Linked DNA regions of Homo sapiens: region 2 is linked to region 1. The links are contacts of gene promoters, found by promoter capture Hi-C in human tissues and cell types (Jung and others, 2019). All regions are on one chromosome and are shown on one strand. The core of a region is centred on a gene start or on the middle of the fragment in contact, and the rest is flanking DNA. Distances in the headings are between cores, read along the strand shown. Region 1 holds the start of RPL27 (ribosomal protein L27). Region 2 holds the start of EZH1 (enhancer of zeste 1 polycomb repressive complex 2 subunit).

Region 1 (2,539 bases), core at 20-2,519:
AGCCATTGCAATGGGATCCTGAGGGATACAGGGAAAATTGTATCACTGGAGAGCTTCAGGAGAGAACTGATGAAATCCTGGTTGTTCCACATCTTGCCCAAGACAAATCCTATAGGTTCAGATAAGCAAAAACTGTGAGATAGTTTATCTTTCCCTTAAACTCGGAAAGCACATAAGGTACCATGTGAAAACACTCTTCTGGTGAGTGATGGGAAATAATTCAGTTTGAGAGCCAACTAGACCTAGATTCAGACCTAGATTTGAATCCCATCTATGCCACTGATTAGGATTAACCTCAGACAAGCAATTTATCCTCTCTGAATTGCAATTTCCTCATGTCTAAATGGGAGGAGAATGCCCAAGATGCAGAGTTGTGAGGATTAAACAGGCTGCCGGCTTGTATAAAGTGCTCACATCTTGCCTGGGAGAGAATCGCTGCTCAGGATGGTGACATGGTAAACAGTATGGGTTCAGGAGTTGAACTGCTTGAGGCTGAGCCCCAGCTCCACTATTTAACCACTATAGACTTCGGGCAAATCTCTCTAAGCCAGTTTCCTCGACTCTAGAATGGAGATAATAGTATCTATTTCTTAGTGTTATGATGACCAAATCAGATGATGTGCATAAATAGATTAACCTGACCTGGCACAGGGTAAGCAGCTGCCATTCTTCTCCTCTACCTCCCTCATGCTTATTCTAGTTGGTAATGTCAGTGACACCACTAGACTTTAACTGTTGGGGGTAAATATCCTTTTTGTTTGTTTTTTTAAAACCAAATTTAGCAGTGGGGGGTTGTATACCAACTTTAGTGACCCTAACGTTGATAAGTTCTGATAACCCACTACTATCGGACCAGCCACCCTTACTGATCTTTGTCCCTCCCTCTTTAGCTAACAGTGCCCCCGACAGGCACCAATAAATGCCCTATTTTTTTCCCTGTGTCTCCCAAGAGAAAAAGTAAATTTCAGATTGTGTTCCCCCTCCTAGCGCCAGAGAAAGGAACTACAACAAAGCCTAGCTGCTGAGTCCAGAGCGCACAGCACAGTCGCCCTCCCAGCTCTTCCGTCGGCCGGGAGGAGTCTCCTTTGCTCTTGTCTACTGCTGGAGCTGCTAATAAAGTTTCATTCGAATACTTGAGCTGCCGCGCCCTGCGTTTCCCTCATGAGCTTCTTCCGCCCGCAACACGAGACTCAGCACCACACAATCAGCGTGGCAAAGCCTGAAGGGCGGGACAGGAAGTGAGGTCACTCCTCACCGGGGTGAAAGGTTAGCGGAAGTGTCCTTCTTTCCTTTTTGCTGGTAGGGCCGGGTGGTTGCTGCCGGTAAGTAGAAGCTTGGGTTGAATCTTTCAATCCGCTGCCATCCGCGGCTTGGGGGTCGAAGGTCCGGGCGGCGCCGGGTGCATTCCTTCCCTAGGTCTCTGGCGGCTACGTATCCGATCCTGTCCTGCGAGCAGGGCCCTCGGGCGGCCTTGACCAAGGCGACAGTGAACACAGTCTGAAGTTCCGGCCCAAGACCTGGGCTTGCTGGCAGGAGTCAGCTCTGGGCATCTTTGGCTTTACGGATTTTTAAGTGGCCCTTTCTCCTTGCTCTCTGCAGAAATGGGCAAGTTCATGAAACCTGGGAAGGTGGTGCTTGTCCTGGCTGGACGCTACTCCGGACGCAAAGCTGTCATCGTGAAGGTATCAGCCTCGCGGGACTCTGCGTCCTTGCATGCCGGGACCAGGCTGGCTGCGGCGGGGCGGGCAGGCTTGGAATTCAAGGCCTGTTTCTGGGGCAGTAGCCAGTGAGCACGGTCAGGGTGAACGTGGGAGAGTTTTTGAGAGAGGAAGAAGCACAGTAAAAGCAAATGTGAGCTGAATTGGGCTCCCAACGCATAAAGCCTTCTCCACCAGAGGCTTTAAATATATAGTAATAGTGGCTGACATTGCACGCTTGCTATGTGCTCCCACTGCCTTTCAGGTATTGTCATGTGCAGTCCTTGAAGTAATCATAGGGGATTCCTTTTCTTTTCTTTTCTTTTTTTTTTTTTTGAGACGGGATCTCTGTCCAGGCTAAGTGCAGTGGCGTGATCACTGCAGCCTCGACCTCCCGGGCTCAAGCGAGTCTCCCATCTCAGCCTCTCGAGTGGCTGGGACTACAGGTGCGTGCCACCATCCCCAGCTATAGGGGGTTCCTTCCTGTTGCTAAGGTTTGGAGGTGTTCTGTTATTTACCTGAAGTGCTGCAGCTGGGAATCTGTAAGAAGAGGAGGAAATTGCTTTTAGAAAGGTCACATAGCCCCTCACTGTTTTCCTCTTATCCATGATTTTGTAGCTTCTTGAGAGAGTTCCCTAGGCTCTGGCCACATACACCACTGCGTTTTGTTGTTGTGGGGACACTGGAGTACCCCTGGATTCCCCTCTCCCATCTCCTGAGACTGATCTCTGGAGTTAGGCTGTGGTGTCTTAACCTTGGCTGTACACTTCACTAGCAGTGGAGCAAGTGAATAGATACCAAGTCCTGTGAGCAGTGCTTGGCATATAGCAAGTACTTCTTAA
Region 2 (2,539 bases), core at 19-2,518, 250 kb before region 1:
CTTATCTCCTAACACACACTCTCTCCTATGTAAGTAATCTCTTTTATCAGTGGCATATCTGGGGATTCCAAGACTTAAAATAGACAAGCTTTCACAGAAACCTCTAATAGGGTTAGCACCTTCTCAGGCTGGAAACCTCCTTCAATATCAGTTTCCTAAATTTAAAAAACATGGGGTGTGGGAATTTTTTTATTCAGCGGCAGTATGGCAGCAAACGTGGAGGAGACTCGCGTTTTCATTGCCATCCTTGCACCCACCTAATTGTTAGTGTACCTGAGCTCCTTTGCTTTCATCCTCCCCTGCCAAGCGTCAGGTTCCTATCGGCCTGGGCTACATCACATACAACCCTGTATTTCACCCTCCATATTCCTTCACATTCCACGGGGGGCACTAACATCCTTCAGGTATCCCTTCCCTTCCCTGCTCAAGAAACAATTCCTCAGTAGTCACTTTTTATTGAAATAAAAGTTTGTCCCACATTTCCTAACAGGCATGTCCCAAATACAACACCTTGTCTGTGCTTCAAGGCACTTTTATTTATATCATTTGATCCTCGGTTGAATGGTGGGGGTGAGCGATCATTGGCGTGAGACCAAAAGTCTGGAGTGAAGGAGATTCTTGCTCAGGGCCAGGCCTGGGGTGAGGCGACCGAGGCACCCAGGACGCACGTGAGGAGGCGCTCACTGCACTTGCGCGACCCTGAGTCAGTGCTCCTTTACACTTTGTGCCTTGGGAGCCTTACTCACCTCACCCTAGTCCCGGCCTTGTTTTTACTGCTACCCCTCCTCAACATCCCCGAAAGCCATCGCAAGATCAGCCCCGGTCTCTAGCCCTCCCCAAGCACAGCTCCAGGTCCCCAGAGTCCACCTCGCTAAAGGCCCCCGCAGGTGCCACCGCCCTCCCGCGCCCTTTGGGCGCTGGGGCTCCCGCCCACCGGCCCACACCGCCATCCAACGGGATTCCCCGTCCCCGAGCCCGCCCCCGCCGCTCCTCCTCCCGGGCACACAGCCCTCGCAGCCCCAGACGCTGTCCTCGCCTGGGTCTCTCTCGCCCCGTCGCCCCCATTCCCCCACCCTCGGAATGAGGAGGGGCGCCTGCTACCCCCGGCCAGGCAGGCAGTGTGTCCCTCGGATTCCTTCCAATTTCCTGATCCCTCCGCCTCTCCCTCCCTCAGGCCCAGGGCGGCGAGGGGAGGAGGCCCGGCCCCACCGCCCGGCCCAGGCTTGTTTACTCACTCACCCTCCATCCCGAGCCGCGGGTCCCGCTGCTAGGACGCATGCGCGCCGCGGCCCCACCCCTGCGCCGTGCCCCGCCCCGCGCCTCCTGTCGGCGCGTGCGCATTGACTTACCCGTGCCGCGCGGACGCACTACTGTCATTTGCCGCCAAAACCCCGCACTCAGGAGTCCTGGCGGGTGCAGCCTCCCAGACGGCTTCCAAAGCGGCGCTGGCAGGGGAGGGGAAGGGCTCTGGGGAAACCTTCGCAGAGCCACTAATATCTTCCTGAAGACCCTATTCAGCGGATTTGCCATCCCCACGCGCTGGTGACAAGCCACATCTCACTTCAGCGTTTGAAGCCAACCCAGATCACCTTCATACCGATGCTTCACCCCTACCAGTTCTCCAGACACCGGTCTATGGGTTCTAAGCCCTTTATTTATGTCTGATCTCCCTATTTCTGTTCATAGTTTTCTAGTCACTTAGAATCAAAATTATAGCCTTGTATCGAAATAAATCCCCACAAGACACCTGCTAGTTACAAAGGGAAAAAAATAGCAACTTTACAGATAAGAATCTGTCAGACACCACCTTAACTAAGTGATCAAAGTTAGCATCACTAGTGATAAGAGGTATTGTTTTCTTCTTCTTTTTTTGCCGGGGGGCGAGGCTGGACGGAGTCTCGCTTTGTTACTTACACAGGCTGGAGTGCCGTGGCGCGATCTCGGCTCACTGCAACCTCTCCCTCCCGGGCTCAAGCAATTCTCCCGCCTCAGCCTCCCAAGTAGCCAGGAATACAGGTTCGTGCCACCACGCCCGGCTAATTTTTGTATTTTTAGTAGAGATGGGGTTTCACCGTATTGGCCAGGCTGCTGTCAAACTCCTGACCTCAAGTGATCTGCCTACCTCGGCCTCCCAAAGTGCTGAGATTACCGGCATGAGCCACCACGCCCGGCCTCCCTCTTCTTTTTAAGGAGACAGGGTCTTGCTGTGTTGCCTAGGCTGGTCTTGAACTCCAGGGTTCAAGCCATCCTCCCACCTTGATTTCCCAAAGTGTTGGGATTACAGGCATGAGCCATTGCCCCCAGCTGAGAGGTATTCTTACCAGGTCCCTCTGAACATGATGCAATGAGAAGCGCACAAAATCACTTCTGTGGTATTCTTGACGAACACGCATAAGCTGATTTTTTGTGCGTGTTGTTTGTTTGTTTGTTTTGAGACAGTTTCACTCTTGTTGCCTAGGCTGGAGTGCAATGGTGCAATCTCGGCTCACTGCAATCTCTGCCTCCTGGGTTCAAGCGATTCTCCTGCCTCAGCCTCCCA

Evidence for each region. Contacts are between HindIII fragments. The study calls those that stand out against the background at their distance.
Region 2: the fragment with the promoter of EZH1 here is called in contact with the fragment with the promoter of RPL27 in region 1 in 1 of the 25 tissues and cell types used here (hippocampus).

What each region holds. Positions count from the first base shown.
Region 1 is chr17:42,997,150-42,999,688 of GRCh38, forward strand. It overlaps RPL27 (ribosomal protein L27), which reads left to right and starts at 1,270. Exons shown (of 5, transcript NM_000988.5): 1 at 1,270-1,322; 2 at 1,600-1,682. The coding sequence starts at 1,602. LOC124904006 (a long non-coding RNA gene) reads right to left here. Exons shown (of 2, transcript XR_007065759.1): 2 at 1-2,237. RefSeq lists enhancers at 827-2,026, 992-1,301, 1,312-1,551, 1,622-1,731. The HindIII fragment of the contact is 14,123 bases long and covers 1-2,539 here.
Region 2 is chr17:42,743,772-42,746,310 of GRCh38, forward strand. EZH1 (enhancer of zeste 1 polycomb repressive complex 2 subunit) reads right to left here and starts at 1,269. Exons shown (of 21, transcript NM_001991.5): 1 at 1,240-1,269. RefSeq lists a silencer at 847-1,426. The HindIII fragment of the contact is 12,026 bases long and covers 1-2,539 here.